Linked DNA regions of Homo sapiens: region 2 is linked to region 1. The links are contacts of gene promoters, found by promoter capture Hi-C in blood cells and fetal thymus (Javierre and others, 2016). All regions are on one chromosome and are shown on one strand. Each heading gives the region's core, a stretch centred on a gene start or on the middle of the fragment in contact. The rest is flanking DNA. Distances are from core to core; before and after follow the strand shown. Region 1 holds the start of CACNA1C-AS1 (CACNA1C antisense RNA 1). Region 2 holds the start of RBM19 (RNA binding motif protein 19).

Evidence for each region. Contacts are between HindIII fragments. The CHiCAGO score rates a contact against its expected background, and 5 or more counts as called.
Region 2: a contact is called between the fragment with the promoter of RBM19 here and the fragment with the promoter of CACNA1C-AS1 in region 1, in 1 of 17 cell types (naive CD4 T cells). The highest score is 8.1, in naive CD4 T cells.

Annotation. Positions count from the first base shown.
Region 1 is chr12:2,687,167-2,693,799 of GRCh38, reverse strand. It overlaps CACNA1C-AS1 (CACNA1C antisense RNA 1), which reads left to right and starts at 2,643. Exons shown (of 4, transcript NR_045725.1): 1 at 2,643-2,731; 2 at 2,821-2,993; 3 at 3,590-3,660. It overlaps CACNA1C (calcium voltage-gated channel subunit alpha1 C), which reads right to left. Exons shown (of 47, transcript NM_000719.7): 46 at 5,021-5,353; 47 at 1-2,900. The coding sequence ends at 2,601. RefSeq lists a silencer at 1,914-2,183. The HindIII fragment of the contact is 2,873 bases long and covers 865-3,737 here.
Region 2 is chr12:113,965,075-113,972,236 of GRCh38, reverse strand. RBM19 (RNA binding motif protein 19) reads left to right here and starts at 5,912. Exons shown (of 24, transcript NM_016196.4): 1 at 5,912-6,045. The coding sequence starts at 6,010. RefSeq lists enhancers at 5,606-5,675, 5,634-6,561, 6,562-7,162. The HindIII fragment of the contact is 5,534 bases long and covers 5,016-7,162 here.

The DNA of each region.
Region 1 (6,633 bases), core at 1,394-3,893:
ATGGTTGGGTCCTGTTTTCCCCAAAGCAGTCCCTTTTCAGCCACCACTGTTGACATACATTTGAAGGACACAGCACCAAAAGAGTGATGTTCTAGGGAGATATAAGTGAGCATTAGAGATGCCCCCACAAAAATCTGTTCCCACCCCCACTGTGAGCTCCGGATGCCTCTTCCCTTGTCCTGGCCCCCTCCCCGGCAGCCCAAACATTAGGGCAAGCCTGAAGGAAAGGCTGCTCCAGAGTGAGGAAGGGATGGAGAAAGGAGCACGCAGAGTTGACTTTCAGATGGATCAGGGTTTCACCAGTTCCTTTCTCGAGCCCCTGCTGTCCTTGTTGGGTAGAGCAACAAGAATCCGGAAGTGAGGATGCCCCTCCCTCCAAGCAGCCTGACTTTAATTTTATCCTCCCGGTTAGTGTACACTTTCCTAAGGAAGCCAAAGAGAAAATTCCGTGTGGTGGAAGGGAAGGGAAAGCCAGCTACCTCTTCCATGGGGGATGCGGATGACGGCCCAGTGACTGAGGGCTCATCAGAACGCCTCCCTGCACCTCACAGTGAAGGGCTGTTCTTGGAGAAGTACCAAATCAGATGACCAGAGCAGAGTGGACAGAGTGAAGACTGGAATAAAATAGGTCCTGGTCTCTCACAGCAAGAGGCGGTACAAACATACCCAGCAAACGATTTTGGAAAAATTGAGGGAAATGTAAGCAAACACAAGATATGCAAAACAGTAATGTCCAAACCTGTTTGTGGAGAGCAGAATAATGACTACACTGGTGATACCTTTGCTCATTGTGCAAACTAAAGAAAACTTGTTCCCTTTCCCCCAACCACATATAGAAAAGCACTTGAGTTCAAAGGTAAAGCTTGTCACACTCCAAATACAAAATGATTTACTTTACATGCAGCAAAATATACAAGAAGTGAATCCGAAAACCAACTTAATTCAATTCATTATATTCGCTTGGCACAATTGCAATTCAGTTTTAAAAAAATATTTGAAAAATACTGAAACTGACCTGAATTCAAGTATAACGGTTTCTTCAACAGAAACATTATCAATGCAATAAAACATTACACGGAATATATTGAAGCAAAATGCCTTCTTGTGTTTTTCCCTTAAATTTCTGTCTTTTTTTAAAATACAGTTTTAATGCCAACACAACTCACAATTGTATTTTTAAATGAATATTATTGCATTGTTTTTGCATATCTTGTGGGACAGAAAATGCAAAGAGTTACTGATTCCCGTTTCAGAAGCAGAGACAGTGGTTTGTTTTTGCTTTCAAACGGCCCCAGATTCAGATCTTCCCACAGCTAAACCAGAAAGGGGGGACTGCGTAGTCACTGGTGTGCACGGGCACATGGTGTGGGTGCATATACACGGGCAGGACATATGCACACAGACAACCCACCACACACACACGCGTCGCACACACTCGGAGACTCTCTCGCGCATGCTCCTCTCTCCCAAACCCACCTGTACACCCAGCATAAAAAGGAACCCAACTCTATCACCCACATGTGCAAGACCACATCAAGTGCATTGCCAGTTACCTTTCCATTAGATAACCGAACCAAACCAGAACAAAAATAGGTTACTACCTAAGGAAATGATAACAAATTATTGGGCATACACAATGGTTGGTAAAACTCTCCTGCAGCGGCTTCTATTGAACCTCCGTGGAAAAAGGAAACCACAACCGTTTAAATAATACAAGAAAACCAAACCCGATGTACATTGGCAAAAGTGAAAACAGAAAGGTGAGGGGGCTACAGGACTTTGTAAACACTCTTCTTCCTCCCCTCCCGCTGGGAAAGCAAAATAAAACATTTAAAAAAAACCAAAACCGAAAAGAAACTGCAACATGCTGTCAAGAAAAGTGTCAAACCACAAAACAAAAGAGCGCTCAGCGGAAGCTCAGCACCACCTGGTTGGGCGGAGCCGGCGGCGCAGCTCCTCCCTCGCGCTGCCTGCGGGCCGGCGGCTGGCCGGGAGCTCGGCGTGGCCCGTGCCGGTCGGGGGATCCCGTCGCAGGTGGGCAGGGACGGAGTGAGCCGCACCACTGCCGGCCCGACGCCCATCCCCAGAGCTCCGCGCCCCTGGAGGCCTCCTCCTCCCTCTCCGGGCCGGGTTGGGGTCCTCCTGGAAGTCCTGCCCCGCTCCCTTCTCCAAATCCGCAGGGCCCTGGCTCTAGGGAGACAGCGAGGCTCGTACAGAATATGTGCAAATGGTTTCTACAAGCAGAGTCGAAAGACACCCGTTTGCTGTAGGGTCCTTTTGGTGAGGGCGCGCGGGAAGCCGGGGTGCTCTCCCCGCGGAGGCGCGGCCGGGCCCGGGGCCTGCGAGCTGGGAGAGGGCAGGCGCCTTCCTCGCGCCCCGGGACCCTCGCCGCCTCCTCTCCCCGCCTCTGCAGACGCAGCCGGGCGCCTTCCTCCCGGAGGGCGGCTCGCGCACCCAGGCTCCGCGTCTGGTCCCAACAGAAATGAATGAAGACGCTGTTCCGGTTAACTCCAGGTCACGAGAACAGTGAGGCACTTCTGAAACGAACCCATTAGGAACATTGAAACAAATAAAAAAAAGCCCGCATCTGGCAGCGCCCACTACAGGCTGCTGACGTAGACCCTGCTGTCCTGGAGCTCCTCCTCACTCGGTCGACCCCGCGCGCGCACACAGCCCGCGTCCTCTTCGCCCCCGGCTCGGTCCTGCCCCGCGTCCCTGCAGTTCACAAAGGGTAAGAGGGCGCCATTGGGGCTCTGTGGGGCGCCCCCGCTGAGGATGTTGTCGGCCGCGCTCTCCATCTCCTCTATGGTCATGTCGCAGGCGTCGGCCAGCTCCTGGGTGGTGACCTCGATGAACTTGGGATCTTGAGCAAACTGCCCCAGTCCTTCTGAAATCAAGACCTGAAGGAGCGGGGTGGGAGCCATGAAGAACCAAAGGAACATTACTCCTGGAGCCCAGCTCTTCCCTTGAGGGCTAGAGCGAGGGGGTATCTGGTAGGTCACTTGGGGAAGTGTGCGTGTGTGCACGTGTACGTGTGTGTGTTGGGAGGGGCACCCATGGGGAACAAGTGGAGATGGAGCATCTGCCAGAATTAGGGATGTGCAGGCCAGAGAAGTTTTGGCTGGGGTGGTCAAACACTGTCATCAAATATATGAAGACTTGCTTATGGCCCAGCACGGTGGCTCACACCTGTCACCCAGCACTTTGGGAAGCCCAGGCAGAAGGACTGCTTGAGCCCAGGAGTTCGAGACCAGGCCCAGGCAACACAGGGAAACTTCGTCTCTACAAAAAATTTAAGAATAATTAGCTGGGTGTGGTGATGCACACCTGTGATCTTAGCAAGGCCAGAGACTGAGGTGGGAGGATCATTTGACCCCAGCAGCGCCAGGCTGCACTGAGCTGTGATTGTACCACTACACTCCAGCCTGGGTGACAGAGCGAGACCCTGTCTCAAAAAACAACCAAAACAAAAACCAGAGAAGGTTTGGCTCTCAGAGGGGCCGGGGGGTTGCCCTGATGCTGTATCAGCAGATCCCAGCCTGCCTCTCTCCTTTCTGACACCCACTGAACCTTTATACTATTCTTTCAGAGAAACCATTCTCCCTGGTGAAACTGCTGAGACAGGCCCACTGCCCATTGCCTGCTGCTGCCTTTCCAGGGGTGAGGTATCTGTGCAAACACGGCGCATGCCCCTGCCTTGCTTCTGCTGGGAAGGGCCAGCAGGTGACCCTTAAGCTTCTCTGTCCTCCCTACCGGCTGCTTAGTGCCTGGCTATGGGAAAATCGGCTCCTGAGCCAGCGGGTCGGGGGAAGCTGAGTGCAGCCTGGCACTCGCTCCTTTCAGGCATCTGTTTGTCTTGCTCCTTGCCCACGCCACTCATTCTCTCCTTGCCCTGCTTAGTTTTTCTTTGGCACTCCTGACCTTCCTGATGTGTTATATATGTATGTGTTTATTATCTGTCTCTCCTCACCATGATGTGAGCTCATGAGAGCAGAAGCTCTGTTTCTCAGCTGTGTCCCTGTACCTAGAACAGGGCCTGCACATGGTAGGCGCTCAGGGAAGGTCTGTGAAATGAATGCAGGATGATCGAGGCCACAGGAATACCAGACTTTGAGAGGTAAACCTTGGAAGCCACCTGGTTTAACGCCCCACCTCCTGCACCACAGCCTGACGCCCGGATGAGCACAGTCTCTGCTTGGCTATGTCTGATGATGGGGGGCTCACTACCTTTCAGGCAAGCCCCTCTCATCTTGGAAGAGCTCATTTGGGAAGGTCTTCCCCATGTGAGCTGAAATCTGTCCGCTGGTGGGCTGAGCCTGCCACCCTTTCCCCATCCCACCCGTTGCAGGTGTGAGAGGTGTATCGCACCCTCCAAAGTCACCTCCTCTCCAGGTTTTCTTCCCGAATTCCCTGAAACGGTTCTCCTAGGAAATGGTTTCTAGGAACCTTGCCATCCTGGTCATCCTCTGTTGGGTTTGTTCCAGTGTGTCAAAGGTCCCTAATAATGTGGTGCCGGGATTGCACTAGATGCTCTGACCAGGCAGAGCACAGTGGGACTGAAAGCTCGCTTGTTCTAGGCTAGTGGCTCTCAACCTTGCTACACGTTAAAATCATCGAAGAGCTTTAACAATCATCAGTTAATCTGTCCCGGGTTTCCAAAGCTCCCCAGGTGATGCTCACGGGCAGTCAGGCCTGAGCACCTTGGATCTTGCCTGTCTGTGTATAAAGGCAGCCAGGCTCACATTTGCATGTCGAGCAGCTGCAGTATAAGGGATAAGTTGCTCAGTGGTTTCTGCCGCCCTCTGCAGTGGGCCCAGCCTCAAGAGAGCCCATAGCATCTTGTGCAGTCATGGCTTTCCGCACACGAGCCCTCCTGCAGCCCTGAGAGGGAGGGTCTTTCGGGCTCAGATATTGACTGCAATGAATTTGGCAAGAGCCAGGTGCTCCCTTCTCAGCCCCGCATGCCAAGTCCCCTTGTTGCCCGTGGCCTCTCCCCCCTGCCCATCTGCGAGTCACCTACCGCTTCCACCAGGCTGCTGGCACTGCCGTGGAACTGCCTCCCTGGGGCCCCAGCCTGGCTGGGCACCATGAGGGAGACGGGCCGGACTCTCCGGGCGGCGCTGCTGCCCCCGCCACCGGGGGTGGTCTCAGCCCAGGAGCCGCAGTGGATGGATGGGAAGCTGCTGTTGAGTTTCTCACTGGACTCGACCCCCTCAAGCCGCAGGGTGGGGACGGGCTGTGGGGGCCAGCCTCGGCTGCCAGGTGTGGCTGGTGGGGTGGCAAAAGGCCTAGGGAATGAGGCAGGGGAATGGCTTCTCTGGAGGAGGGGGCTCAGGCCTGCCACTGCCAATGCCTGCGGACACACAAGGAGTGTGAGTTAATAGGAGTGGCCGACCCCAAACAAGGCAGGCCCCTGCTTCTGAGCAAGCACTGCTTTGCAGCTGCTGTGTCCAGCTAGCTCCACCTGCCTGGTATTCCCATGCCATTATTTTCCCCTGTCGGTCCTATCTCAACCTGGCATGACTTTCAACTATCTCAAAATACATCTTAGGATCATCTGGGTCTGAAGTGATCTCTTTCTCCTGTAACTTCTGAAAGCTGGGATTGGGTGAAGTCGTGGTAACCTGCTTTTAGCCCTGGCCTGGTCACCTGTCAGCTGTGCATTCTCTCGCTCTTGGTTTTGTCCTCAATAGAATGGAGAGCAGGGTGAGGCCTGCATGTCTGTAAAGCCAGAAAACGAATGCTGTCTATCCATCTGCCCTGTGGGGCTGGTGTGAGGCTCAAGCGCAATGAGGTCTGTGAAGAAGCGCTGTGCACCTCACAAAGAGTTGGGAAAACCAGTATTTGTGGTTTTAGTTCTCACAGTTAATGGGGCCATTCATAATGCCCTGCCAGTCTCTAGCTCAGGTTGTCTTTGAGCCATTGTTAAATCCGGTGCTGTATTGTGATTAAAAGATTCAGGGCTGGGAGCAGTGGCTCATGCCTGTAATCCCAGGACTTTGGGAGGCCAAGGCGGGCAGATCACCTGAGGTCGGGAGTTCAAGACCAGCCTGACCAACACGGAGTAACCCAGTCTCTACTACAAATGCAAAATTAGCCAGGCATGGTGGTGCATGCCTGTAATCCCAGCTACTTGGGAGGCTGAGGCAGGAGAATCACTTGAACCCGGGAGGTGGAGGTTGTGGTGAGCCGAGATCGTGCCATTGCACTCCAGCCTGGGCAACAAGAGCAAAACTCTGTCTCAAAAAAAAAAAAAAAAAAGTCACACGGTACGCCCTCTGTCCCTGAATATTCTTGAGCATCCTGAGGGTAGGGACCAGGCCTGTCTGGCTGTTGCCATGACAACCTGCCAGGGCAGAGGCTCTGCAGGGTGAGCTGCTCTGATGGGATGTGCTCCCGGGAGAGAGCGACACTGTGGTGGGGAAAGACCACCTCTAGGGTCACAGAGTACAGGAGGAGAAAGAGATGAAGAGGAGAGTTTCGTGCCTACCAGTACGACAAGAACAGATAGGTGAAATCGACTTCTAGAAATCTTTTAAGATAGCACACACAGTGTCCCCACATCCTTCCACCTCCTGCCCCTGCCCATGGTGGTCCTCAGCCTGGGGCTCCTGGGTCCCTGGGAATCTGAGA
Region 2 (7,162 bases), core at 4,663-7,162, about 110 Mb before region 1:
TTGAGGGTACATTTTTACATGCATATGTGTTTTAATTGAATAGACAGTCTACACAAGACAGAGAGAGGGTGAAATCTGATCTTCAGAGTAGACTACTACAAAGCAAGCAGATCTCATGGGTCGAACAGCAGCCCCCAAAAGATATGCCTACATCCTAATCCTCAAAACCTGTGAATGTGACTCTTTTTGGAAAAAGGGTCTATGCAGATATAATCACCTATGGATCTCAAGATGAGATTGACCTGGAGTTACAGTGGGTCCTAAGCTTAATGGCAGGTGTCCTGCTAAGAGGAAGCATAGGGAGGTGGATTTGACTCAGACACCAGAGTGGAGAAGGTCATGTGAAAACAGAGGCAGAGACGGACGCTATGCAGCCACAAGCCAAGGAATACCTACCGCCACCAGAAACTGGAGGAGACAAAAAAGGATCCTTCCACTTTGAGCCTTTGGAGAGACCACTGCGCTGCTGACACCTTGATTTTAAATTCCTGGCCTCCAGAACTGCAAGAGAATACACTTCTGTTGTTTGAAGCCATCCAGTTTCTGGTAATTTGATATAGAAGCCCTAGAAAATCAATACACCCCATAATCCTGTAACTTAAAACTATAGCTCATGGGGTGGCTTCCTGGTTTTGTAAATAAAGTTTTATTGGAACACGGCCACAGATGTTAGCTCTGGATGTGTTCAAAATACAGTAGCAGGATGCAGAAGTTGCATTAGAGACCACATAGTGAAATACTCTCTGACTTTTTAAGAAAAAGTTTGCCAATCTCTGATTTAAAACATATACAGACCGGGCATGGTGGCGTGCACCTGTGATCCCAGCACTTTGGGAGGCCAAAGCGAGAGGATCACTTGAGCCCAGAAATTTGAGACCAGCCTGGGCAACAAAGCCAGACCCTGTCTCTACAAAAAATTTAAAAATTAGCTGGGTGTGGTAATGCATGCATGTAGTCCCACCCACTTCGGAGGCTGAGGAAGGAGGATCACTTGTGCTCAGGAGATCAAGGCAGCAGTAAGGCCTGATCACACCACAGCACTCCAGTCTGGGCAACAGAGCAAGACCTTGTCTCAAAAAAAAAAAAAAAAAAAAAAAAAAGGCCAGACACAGTCACTCATGCCTGTAATCCAAGCACTTTGGGAGGCCAAGGCAGGTGGATCACTTGAGGTCTGGAATTTGAGACCAGCCTGGCCAACACAGTGAAACCCATCTGTAATAAAAATACAAACAATTAGCCAGGCACGGTGGTGTGCACCTATAATCCCAGTTACCGTCTCAAAAAAAAAAAAAGACAAAACCCAAAATAAATACATAAAGATTTACTGGGCTCCCTACAATTTCACCCCTCCAAAGCCATCCTGCAGAAATGCCCACAATTAATATACATGCTTGTTGACTTTACCCTATGGTTAAGTATAAATATATGCAGATGTAGTTTATACATGATTAACATTTTAATGTATTAAAAATAATAGGTAATTTTTTCATAATGAAATATCAAAATTATAAAAGGTTACTCAAGGTAAAGGACATTTCCATCCATCCGTATACTCACTTCCTCGGTCCCCTCCCCAGAAGCAACTGCTGTTACCACTTCCTCATGTATCTTTTGAGATCGCCTTTGCTTACATAAATCATATATAGTGTCCCCTCCAAATTCCTATGTTGGAGTCTTAACTTTTCATACCTCACAAAGTGATGTTATTTGGAAATAGAGTGTTTACAGAGGTAACTATATTAAAATGAGGTCATTAGAATTAGCTTTAATCCAATGTCTTTTAAAATGGGGAAGTTTGAACATGAACTCATGGACACAGGGAGACTGTCATGTGGAGATGAAGGCTGAGATCGGGGTGACATGTCTACAGGCCAAAGAGTGTCAAAGATTGCCAGCACACCACCAGAAGTGAGACAGGGAGGAACAGATTCAACCTCACGGCTCTCAGAAGGAACCGGCGCTGCCAACACCTTCATCTCGAACTTCTAGCCTTCAGAACTGCAAGACAATACATTTGGAAATTTACGACTACCCTGGCCTACAAACATGACAAGTATCTATGTATCCTCACCCATCTCCCTCCTTTTTTTGTGTGTGTGTTTTGTTTTTACCTAAGTGAAAGCATACATAATACATTATTTAGTATATTGCTGGTTTTCACTTAACAATATATTTTGGAGATTGTCCCATGTCCCATGTGCTAGTTCTTCTCTAACAGCCCATCTCCCATTCCCTGAGCCTGCTCCTCCACTTTGCTCTGTGCCCCAGATGCAATCTGTGTGCACTGCAACATCTGTGATCATGCCTCCAGCTTCCCATTGGTTCGGCCAAGGGGAGGCTCCAGTAGGAAACTGCAGTTGGGAAGAGAAAGAGGGGACAGTGTATTTATCCCCGACACACACACACCTGTGGTTCCACAGTGGCTGTATCTCTCTATAGCTCTAGTCCTTAAAGTACGTCCCTCTTCCATGGCTCCTGGCATCACTGAAGCTCAGGAATGACATGTCCTACTCTGCCCTTCAGCCCCAGGGGTGGTGATAGCTCCCCACTGTTGCCAGGCCCTGGGGTTTGGCCATCCTTTGTTGGTTCCCTTAACCCTTCCTGTATTCATTTGCTGCAGGTGCTGTCTCAAATTACCACAAATTAGATGGCATAACAATGCAAAGTTATTCTCTCACATTTCTGGAGGCCAGAATCCCCCAAAGCACCAGCAGGGCCATGCTCCCTCCAAAACCTCCAAGGGAGAACGCTTCCTTGCTTCTTTCAGCTTCTGGTGGCTCCAGGTCTTCGTTGACTTGTGACTGCATCACTCCAGACTCTACCTCCACCTACACATGACGTTCTCTGTGTGTCCTTTAAAAGGACATGTGTCATTGGATTTAGGGTCTACCAGGATAATTCAGGATGATCTCATTTTGAGACCCTTAAGTACATTTGCAAAGACCCTTGATATGGTTTGGCTGTGTCCCCACCAAATCTCATCTTGAATTGTAGCTCCCATAATCCCCACGTGTCCTGGGAGGGACCCAGTGGGAGATAATTGAATTATGGGGGTGGTTTCCCCATACTGTTTTCGTGGTAGTGAATAAGTCTCACGAGATCTGATGGTTTTATAAGGGGAAAGCCTTTCACTTGGTTCTCATTCTCTCTTTGCCTGCCACCAGGTAAGACATCCCTTGCTCTTCCACCATGATTGTGAGGCCTCCCCAGCCATGTGGAACTGTGAGTCCATTAAATCTCTTTCCTTTATAAATTACCCAGTCTCAGGTATGTCTTCATTAGCAGCGTGAGAACAAACTAATACAACACTTTTTTGCAAATAAAGTCACATTTACAGCTTCCAGGGGTCAGGATGCCCCCAGTGTGTGTGGTGGTGAGGGGACAGGGGATCATTCATCCCACTACACTGCCCACCCTTCTGTAAATAGCTTTTTGTCCAGATTTGCTTTTGTTAAATCCTTTTGAGTATACCTCTGTGTCCTGCTGACTGATGCATTTCCTTCAAAAACATTTATAGCTACATACCTACCGTTTTTTAACAACTGCATAGAATTCTGTTGAATGGACAGACCTTAATTTACAATTAGCATTTAATGAACTCCTATTACCTGTCTCCTCCTGGTGCCCAGTGTGATGCTTTGCAAAGATGGATCTAAGGATGCCCCTATGGCAACATAATGTAGAAAGAACAAGTGGCCTCATCTATAACTCTGAACCTACACTGTGCGCTCCTCACCAGCGAGTTCTGTAGGTTTATGCTGTGGCAGATGCATGAGCTCCCTGCATTTGGGGCTCAGTAGGAAAGAGGCATATTCGAGGATGCCATGTTTGAGCTGGTCTTAGAGAGGGGATGGGAATGGGTTCAGAAAGATATTCCAGTGGCCAAAAGCACATGAAAGATGCTGTTTCATTAGTTATCGGGGAAATGCAAATCAAAACATTGAGTCACCACTGTACACCCACTAGAGTGGCTATGATTATAAAGACCCAATAACAAACACTGGAGGAGATGTGGAGATATTTGAACCTTCATATACCGCTGGTAGGAATATAAAATGGGGAAGCCACTTTGGATAACAGGTTAGCAGGTTCTAAAAAGGTTAAGCATAGAGTTACCATATGATCAGGCAATCCTACTCCTAGGAATATATCCAAGAGAAATAAGAACATATGCCCACACAGGAACTTACAGGTAAATGTTCACGGCAAGATTATTCACAGTAGCCACAAAGCGGAAACAACCCAAATGTCCATCATCAACTGATGAATAAATAAAATGTAATACATCCATATATGTAATACTATTCAGCAAAAAAAGTGTGGTGGCTCACGTCTGTAATCCCAGCACTTTGAAAGTTCAAGGCAGGTGGATTGCTTGAGCCCAGGAGTTCAAGACCAGCCTGGGCAACATGTTGAAACCTCGCCTCTACCAAAAAATTACCAAAAAAAAAAAATTAGCCAGGCATGGTGGCATGTGCCTGTAGTCCCAGCTGCTCAGGAGGCTGAGGTGGGAGGATGGCTTGAGCCTGGGAGGCGGAGGTTGCAGTGAGCTGAGATTGTGCCACTGCACTCCAGTCGGGGTGACAGAGCCCGACCCTGTCTCAAATAAATAAACAGATAAATAAAGTGCTGATTCATGCTGCAACATGGAAGAACTTTGAAAACATTATGCTAAGTGAAAGAAGTCAATTACAAAAGACTACATATTGTATTATTCCATTTACATGAAATGTCCATAACAGACAAATCCATAGAGACGGAAAGTAGATTAGTGGTTATCAGAGGGAAGGGAGAGGGAGGAATTGGAAGGTTATAGCTAAAGGGTGTGGTGTTTCTTTGGGGGTAATGAAAATGTCCTAGCATTGATTGTGGTGATGGCTGCACACCTCTGTAAATATAGTCAGCACCATTGAATTGTGCACTTTAAGTGGGTGAATTGCATGGTTTGTGATAAAGCTGTTAACAATAAGAAGGGGGGACGGAATGTCTTTTAGGTGAAGGAAATTGCAGAAGCTTGGCAGCAACGTCCAGTGCAGCTGAGGCACTGTGGGGAAACAGAAAGGAAATACCGTCATTTAAGAGTGAAAATAGGGGTTTTCATAGGATGTCTCCATCCAAGAGTAGGTACCGAGAATGCTCAGAGAAGCAATAGGAAAATAACATCCCTTTCACGTTCTCACCTCCTTAACCCCTAGCATAATAAAGAATTATTCCCATTTTATAGAAGTAGACACAAAGGCTCAGAGGCCATTTTGGCCAAGATCTCTCAGCTAGAAGATTGGCCAGCTGAGAGTTCCAAACATTAGGAAGGGAGGCAAAATGCTTGTGGGGCTGGGGTTGAAGGCGTAGAGACTCATTGTAGGGCCCTAGGCAGTCCCTAGCTCGAATCTGACTTTCCAATTCATAGTTATAAGACTTTGAGCAAGCTGCTTTACACGCACGATTCCCAGTTTATCTGCCTGCAAAATGAGAGCGTTTATTTCCAACATGTTCATTCCAAGTATTTACACAAAAGGCTCAATACTTGATTTGTGTTGGCTGGCAATCTCTCTAAACTTCACTTTCCCCATTTCTACGAGGAAGGCAAGGGTCCCTAATCTTGCCCCCGTTCTCAGGGGAGTCCTAAGGCTCAATAATAAAAATAAAATAAGAAAAAGGAGAGAACGCGATTGCCCGGTTGGCGCGACCCTTAACACCGAGCTAAACCGGCGCATGTTAGGGACCGGCGCCCCCTGCCGCCTTCTCCGCTGCATTGGCGTCTCACAGAATCCGCCCAAGGCCCTGCGCCTGCGCAAAATGCAAGCGCCCAGGCCCACCCCTTGTGGGGTGTGACCTCCCTGAGTAGTTTTGGATTAGCCACGCCTACTTCCGGACAGGTCAGGCCAAGGTCTCAGCCACGTGACTGTGTTCCGGCTCGGTAAAGATGGCGGCGCCCAGGGCGGTAGCGTGAAACTTGGTGGAAGACGCTGACCAGTCGTGTTGGAATCAAAACAGCGGGGACCCTGCGCCATGTCGCGACTGATCGTGAAGAATCTCCCGAATGGGGTGAGTGCAGAGGCAGGACTTGGGAATCTGAAATGAGACCAGCCGGGAGCTGTGAGGTAGGGAAGAGATGCCTGGAGGTGATCGAAGAATTTTTGCTCTGGGGCAGGACTCCGGGCCAATTCTGAACTCAAAGGGGGCGGGATCCTGGGCTTATCCCCATTTGATCCCGAGGAAAGAGGAATAGTGACTGCTTACGGTTTCACGGCCGGTTGTTTGGTACCTGACTCCTAACACACCTCTTCTCGGGGAGATGACAACTCCCACCTTGTGGCGAATACCCTGCTCCCACAACCTCTTTCATTCGATCACTGTTTTTTAGTTGTTGACCCGGGACATGGTCCGACACTGTATTTATATTCCTCTCCCAGTCTGGAAACTGTTGGGGAAGACATGGGGAATATTAATCTGCGGACCTGCGTTCCAATTCCCACTCCCATCCTTAGGGCAAGTAGGAATACGGAGTGGGTAAAGGGCTTTACAGCATTTATCCAGTAAGTGGGGAGTGGTGACCCAGCCATACTTTTTTGTTTCCCTGGAGCCCAGCGCAGAACCCGACACGTGGTAGGCAAAATAGGTGAATGTACGTAATATTAGATGATTAGATGCGGTGGGCTCGAATGGATCATCCTTTTTTCTCTCTCTCGCTGTTTTTTGTTCTGTTTTGTTTTTTTGTTTTTAAATGGATTACTGCTCCTTCCATCAGGTTAGACAGTGTCTCTTGATGCCTCGCTTTGTGGGATGAGGATTTTTAGCGTAGCTGCACTTCCTTTCCCTCCCAAATTCAGCTTTGTTGTGTTTCAAGTGTAGTTGATTCTCTTATCATTGTTTGTCTTATCTCTTTTTTTTCTCTCTCTTTCATGGCTTTTTTTGGTTTTGTTTTTTGTTTTTTTCTTTTTTTGTTTTTTTTTTTTAAACGGAGTCTGGCTCTGTCTCCCAGGCTGGACTGCGGTGGAGCAATCTCGGCAGTCTCGGCTCACTGCAACTTTTGCCTCCCGGGTTCTAGCGATGCTCCTGCCTCAGCCTCCCAAGTAGCTGGGACTACAGACACGCGCCACCAAGCCCGACTAATTTTTTTATTTTTAGTAGAGACATGGGGTTTCGCCATGTTGGACAAGTT